Regions from separate parts of the Homo sapiens genome. Here region 1 is linked to region 2. Evidence: promoter capture Hi-C in 16 types of primary human blood cells and fetal thymus (Javierre and others, 2016). All regions are on one chromosome and are shown on one strand. Each heading gives the region's core, a stretch centred on a gene start or on the middle of the fragment in contact. The rest is flanking DNA. Distances are from core to core; before and after follow the strand shown. Region 1 overlaps NDRG4 (NDRG family member 4). Region 2 holds the start of GINS3 (GINS complex subunit 3).

What was found. The method cuts DNA at HindIII sites, captures the fragments that hold promoters and counts their contacts. A CHiCAGO score of 5 or more calls a contact.
Region 1: a fragment that was not itself captured here is called in contact with the fragment with the promoter of GINS3 in region 2 in 2 of 17 cell types (naive CD4 T cells and total CD8 T cells); the score reaches 5.5 in naive CD4 T cells.

What each region holds. Positions count from the first base shown.
Region 1 is chr16:58,504,003-58,507,127 of GRCh38, forward strand. It overlaps NDRG4 (NDRG family member 4), which reads left to right. Exons shown (of 15, transcript NM_001242835.2): 3 at 152-272; 4 at 357-419; 5 at 587-647; 6 at 2,385-2,471; 7 at 2,556-2,612; 8 at 2,910-3,013. Among named protein-coding and RNA genes, the nearest start is that of NDRG4, 5.4 kb to the left of the region's middle. The HindIII fragment of the contact is 178 bases long and covers 1,394-1,571 here.
Region 2 is chr16:58,390,943-58,394,556 of GRCh38, forward strand. GINS3 (GINS complex subunit 3) reads left to right here and starts at 1,529. Exons shown (of 3, transcript NM_022770.4): 1 at 1,529-1,845. The coding sequence starts at 1,660. RefSeq lists enhancers at 1,168-1,745, 1,352-1,841, 1,746-2,322. The HindIII fragment of the contact is 2,062 bases long and covers 297-2,358 here.

The sequences.
Region 1 (3,125 bases), core at 233-2,732, 110 kb after region 2:
CACTCACCTCTGTTGCCTTCGCCCTCCGGGCCTCCATTTCCCCGACGGACCCGAGGCTTACACTTCTGCCTTGCCTGCCCTCTGGGGGCCCGGCCTTCCTTCCAGTCCCCCGGCCCCTCTGCTCAGCCATAGTGGAAGTGTGTCTTTGCAGACAAACTATGCTTCAACACCTTCTTCAACTTCGAGGACATGCAGGAGATCACCAAGCACTTTGTGGTGTGTCACGTGGATGCCCCTGGACAACAGGTGGGGGCGTCGCAGTTTCCTCAGGGGTAGGTACCCTGAGCCCCCTCTGCCTGTCTCCAGCTCTGCACCTGAGGCCACACCTGGGCCCTGACCTCCTGCTCTGCCTGCAGGTACCAGTTCCCCTCCATGGAGCAGCTGGCTGCCATGCTCCCCAGCGTGGTGCAGCATTTCGGGTGAGTCCCCGCACAGCCCCTGCGCTAGGGCCCAGGGGTGCCTACCCCAACTGCAGAGCCACCTGGCTCCAGCTGAGGGCTTCAGGCTATGGGCAGGGCCTGCTCTGGATGACATGTATGGGAAATGGCACCCCTAGCCCTAGAGTGACCAGCCTGCTCTGCACCAGGTTCAAGTATGTGATTGGCATCGGAGTGGGCGCCGGAGCCTATGTGCTGGCCAAGTTTGCAGTGAGTCTCCCCATGCCCCCATTACCCCAAACACCAGGGCAAGCCAGGGATGTCCCAGTGGTGGGGACTGGGGGGAACCCTTCAGCCTTGAGGAAGTGTCCCTGCTCTCGCTTCTCCTCCTCCCACCTCCTCTTTATGTAGAAAACCTCTTTTTTCTTTTTTCCTCCAGGGAAATTAACTTTTTTAAAAAAGAGGTTCCTTTCTCCATATAGTTTTCTCAAGAGACTAGAAACTATAACTTGCTTAAACTATTATCCAAAGCCAGAATTTCTAGTAGCAACAAACTATACAACTAACTGCTCTAGCCACTAAATAAGGATCGTCCTTCACTAATTGCCATGGTATTTCAACATGAATAATTTTTTTAGCAAAAAATTTTATTATGGTTGGGAGGTTTAAAGAAGGCACATTTCAAAAACATCATTGTCGGTGGCTCACACCTGTAATCCCAGCACTTTGGGAGGCCAAGGTGGGCAGATCACGAGGTCAGGAGATCAAGACCATCCTGGCTAACACGGTGAAACCCAGTCTCTACTAAAAATACAAAAAATTAGCCGGGCGTAGTGGCGGGCGCCTGTAGTCCCAGCTACTCGGGAGGCTGAGGCAGGAGAAAGGCGTGAACCCGGGAGGCGGAGCTTGCAGTGAGCTGAGATCGCGCCACTGCACTCCAGCCTGGGCAACAGAGCGAGACTCTGTCTCAAAAAAATAAAAAAATAAAAAAAATCATTGTTGGGTAGGAATTCACAAGCTTTTCATCTCTAAAAACAAGCAAAAAAAAAAAAAACAAAAACCCAAAAGACTAATTTTTCACGATCGAAGACATTTACTACTTCAAAAGAAATGACCAAGAATTTTCAACTCCAGTTGCAATGTCAGCACTTAATCATTTTGTTAACTGGAGGCCATTCCCTGCCACCCTAGACAAGCTTGATGTGGTTATGCTGTTTTTCTTTAAGCACAGTCTAACAGTTGAAAAGAAAATACCTCTTTTGCAATGCCTACGGCAAAACAGACTTTGAAAAGGTTGTTTTTTTCTTAATTTATATCATGAGGGCTTCATTTTCTTTTTTTTTTTTTTTTTTTTTTTTTTGAGATGGAGTCTTGCTCTGTCGTCCAGGCTGGAGTGCAGTGGCATGATCTCGGCCCACTGCAACCTCCACCTCCCTGGTTCAAGCAATTCTCCTGCCTCAGCCTCCTAAGTAGCTGAGACTACAGGTGCATGCCACCACGCCTGGCTAATTTTTGTATTTTTATTAGAGACAGGGCTTCACCATGTTGGCTAGGCTGGTCTCGTATGCCTGACCTCAGGTGATCAGCCCGCCTTGGCCTCCCAAAGTGCTGGGATTACAGGCGTGAGCCACGGCGCCTGGCCAGGGCTTCATTCTCTATAAAAGCAAAAAAACAACATGCTTAAGATTTTAAGATGTTTAATACTCAATTTTGCACTTCAAAAATATATTAAGAGCTGATTCTGTTGAAAGAGCGTGTGTGTGTGTGTGTGTGTGTGTCTGTGTGTGTGTAGGGGTGGAAACAATGATAGAGATTCTAAATAAATCCAAGAACTGTGAAGGGTTCAGTGAGAGGAGGACAGGCAGGGGCATCTGGACATGGGTGTGCATGCACAGACCCGGCTGTAGCCGGGTGGCTGATCAGCAGCACCTTGAAGACTTTACAGAGTGTTTCTGCCATCTGCACCCATCCTGGCCCCGCCCGGCCCTGTTTCCCCTCTTACTGCAGCTCATCTTCCCCGACCTGGTGGAGGGGCTGGTGCTGGTGAACATCGACCCCAATGGCAAAGGCTGGATAGACTGGGCTGCCACCAAGGTGTGTGTGGTGACCGGGGGTGGGGTGGGTATACCTAGGGTGGGGTGAGGGGCGGCACTCACGCTGGCGCCCTGCTCCCTGCAGCTCTCCGGCCTAACTAGCACTTTACCCGACACGGTGCTCTCCCACCTCTTCAGCCAGGTAAGGGGGGGAACTTCTGCAGATCTGGGGTGATCTGGGATTTGCCCCTCCCAGCTGGCTCGGTAGGAGGCAGGCGGGTGTCTTTGGCATCTGACCTGGCTCACTCCAGATGCTAAGCCATCTGAAAGACAGACATCCCCTCCCAAGGCCCCACACCTCCTACCTGCCCCCACCCTGTCTCCCCTGCCTGCTGAGTGGGGCAAGGGCCACTCTGGCAGTGACATCTGCCAGCCCCCTCTAAGCCTGCGTCCCTCTGTCTGCCCCTCTGCATGCCTCCATCCATCTCCCTGGGCCTAGGAGGAGCTGGTGAACAACACAGAGTTGGTGCAGAGCTACCGGCAGCAGATTGGGAACGTGGTGAACCAGGCCAACCTGCAGCTCTTCTGGAACATGTACAACAGGTGCGGGTGGGATCAGCAGCCCTGGGACCCAGCACACCCCAGTGGGGGCCCTTGCACACTGCCCCCTGAGGGAGGCAGGCAGACAACACCCTTGCCCTGGTTTGTAGATGGG
Region 2 (3,614 bases), core at 279-2,778:
CTCCTTAGAATGGTACCAAGATTTTCCACAGTTTGGCCATTCCTTTCCACCCCACTGCACCTTGTTTTCATTGTCCTCAGAATTTCATTTATAAAGGTGACTGGGTGATGACAATCAATGAGTTAGTGGCCAATGCCTTTGAAAATTTTATTATAGTTCTCAAGAGAAGGGGCTGTGCCTACGGCCACACGAGAAAGTATTAGGGTCAATGAGGAGGTAGAGAGAGCGAGGAGAAAGCCCAGAGCCTTTATTGCCGTGGGAAGGAATGGGCGAAGCAGGGAAGGGAAGTCTGAACAAGCTTAGGATTGAATAATTTGAATAATGTTGGCAAGCTCTGGGATATAGAGGTGAATTTTAGTTGTCTGGTACTTGGCCATGGGGTGGTTTATTACAGTGACTTGGGGCAGGGAAAATATTGGTGTGTGAGATGGATAAAGATGGTGTGGGGATATAGGCTTGGGTTGGTTGGTTTGTAAATGAAAGGGGTGTTCACAAGCAAGTTGTTTGCTATCTCTAGGAATTAGCTAACTCTGAAAGGGGCAATTCCTCCCCAGGTCCCCAAGGCCCCAAGATGTCAAAGCATCATAAAATACAGAAAACAGAAACTAAAATCCATGGTTAATACACACCTCCCTTCACACACACCCTTTACTCCCGGCTCCAGTAGCCCCAGAAATGCTCTAGACGAAGTAAGTTCTGTAGTGCATCTCTCAACAATATGCCGCCACCCATAGCCCTGGCTGAGGAGAGCCACCAAACCTGGTACTATGCGACCATGGTCCTTCCCCTGGTCACTGGATAGTGATCGCACCCAACACAGGCACCCCCATCTACAGGGTGGCTGGAGATCTATGACCATTGTGGCGTACCTGGACCAATCAATAAACTGGACCAATTGGATTTCCATTTTTAGGGATTTAAATTCAGAGCCACAAAAGGAGATTGTCAGTTGATGATGAGCTAAGACACCCTGAAGTATACTCACAACCTTAGCAAGCCATGTGCAGTCTAGTGCTCCACCCCTCTACCCACCCCGTCCAACCCCCACCAAAATACTAACAAAATACAACACACTAGTTCATCATCTAGACCATAATAACTCGCTGGGGATAGTGCTGGAAGTTTTTGTTTGTTTAACATTTCTTTCAAATACTAAGATTAACGGAGTTGCATAGTGAAAAAAACTGTAGGAAAGGGTCGGACTTAGGCCTGGAGTGAAGGGCACAAGATGCTTTTATTTTAAACCCCTAAAAGTGTTGCAAAGTGTTTTTAATTTCATATAAATAGTTAAGGATCACATGAACACAATCCAGTACAAATGGGTCCAGGAGCTTCAACGAGCGTTCCAGCTTCTTCGTAACGTTCCCACACCGTGCAGCAAGCGGAGGGAAGAGAACTTCCGGCGCCCCCACCTACCGCTCCCCAGCCGTGTCCCGCTGCTCTAAATCTGCAGACTTGATCGATTGCTTCTGCCTGGGCGGTACCGCCCGAATTGACTGCTCCTGTCTGATGCGTCCCCGGGCGCGGGAAACGAGTTTCAATCCACTTTCCTGACCCCAACCATCCTGCCCAGTCTCCGCTTCCCCGTCTTGTACACCCCTAACTCCTGAGGCTCCTCCGAATCACGCGAGTGGAAGCGGAGAAGCTCAAGTGGCCGCCATGTCAGAGGCTTATTTCCGAGTGGAGTCGGGTGCGCTGGGGCCTGAGGAGAACTTTCTTTCTTTGGACGACATCCTGATGTCCCACGAGAAGCTGCCGGTGCGCACGGAGACCGCCATGCCTCGCCTTGGCGCTTTCTTCCTGGAGCGGAGCGCAGGCGCCGAGACTGACAACGCGGTCCCACAGGTGAGCCTTTGGGTGCGGGGTCCTGCCCGGAAAGACTGCAGCTCCCGGCGGGCCCCTCGGCCCTGGGACGCCGCATCGGGGCGCGCTGCCCTTTGGGATTTGTAGTTTTCGAGGAGCCAGGGCCGAAGGCGCTAACGACTTCTCGGAAACTCCGCGGGGGTCCCTTCGCGCTCGGGGTGGTCTCCAGACTTCTTGTTCGCCATCTGTGGTGAAACTACATTTATCCTAGGTCGCCAGGCAGCCTCCAACATTGATTTCTTTTTTGAAACTGTCCAAATTAGTGTCTTCCCCCTACCCCATGCAACGTGTGTTGAATGCTTAAAGATTGGCTCCAGCTGAATACTTAAGAATTAGAGTTCTGATCATGTTTGCCTTAAAACAGCTTTGGGTTCTGTAAGAGCATGTGATAAGTAGGAACCCCAAGTTGCTAAATTCATTCCTCCATAATGATGACAGGATCAGTAAGCCCTACTGAGGCTTACTTAGTGGCAGCATGGTTGGGTGTGGGGAGTAAGCTTTTCCCTTTAATCCTTCAGCAACCAGAAAGGCTGGGTCACTTGGCCAGGGCTTCAGTTAGTGGTGAGCTGGGATTCGGAACCCAAGGCCATATGGCTTCAAATATAAAATTGTCCCAGGAACATGGCTTGTAATGATTAATTTGGATATCCTGTTTCACCTAAGTTTTGTATAGAACGATGTTTATTGTTTGGTCTGTTTGTTTCAAGTTAATTTTTATCAAAGTAATACATAACCAACGTTTTAAAAGTCAAATAGGCCGGATGCGGTGGCTCACGCCTGTAATCCCAGCACTTTGGGAGGCTGAGGCGGGCGGATCACGAGGTCAAGAGATCCAGACCATCCTGGCCAACATGGTGAAACCCCATCTCTACTAGAAAGCTGGGTGTGGTGGCCGGCGCCTGTAATCTCAGCTACTCTGGAGGCTGAGGCAGGAGAATTTCTTGAACCCAGGAGGCAGAGGTTGCAGTGAGCCGAGACTGTGCCACTGCACTCCAGCCTGGCGACAGAGTGAGACTCCATCTCAAAAAAAAAAAAAAAAAAAGTCAAATAGTACCAAAAGATTTATAAGAAAAAAAATAGCAGGTCCTGCCTTCCTTTTCCCACTTCCCCCTCCAAGTCCACAGGGCTCATGTACCTTTTTTAGTGGTGTCTTCAAGATTCATCTTCATATTTCTAAATAATATTCTTAAACTTACCTTGTTGGGTTGTTTTTTTTAATGTAGACATTATCTGTTGACTTCATCCTAGCAGATGAGGATTTCGTTCCCATACACACTGGTAAACATGGCGCTATGCTGCCCATACTTAATTCATATTTCCTTAGTTTTTAGTTAATGCCCTTTTTCTATTCTAGGATTCCACCTAGGATACCACACTGCATTTAGTAGACATGTTTCCTTAGCCTTCTCTTGGTTGTGACAATTAATCAGACCTCCTTGTTCTAATGACCTCGACGGTTTTGTGGAGTGGTGGTCAGGTATTTTGTAAAATGTTCCTCAGTTGGAAATCTTTGGTTTGGGGGTAGTTTTGTTTTTGGTTTTGTTTTTTTGTTTGTTTTTTTGACACGGAGTTACCCTGTCATCTAGGCCAGAGTGCAGTGGCATAATCTCAGCTCACTGCAGCCTCCTCCACCTCCTGGGTTCAAGCAATTCTGCCTCAGCCTCCCAAGTAGCTGAGATTACAGGCGCCCACCACCACACCCAGCCAATTTTTGTATTTTTAGTAGAGATGAGGTTTCACCAGGTTGGCCA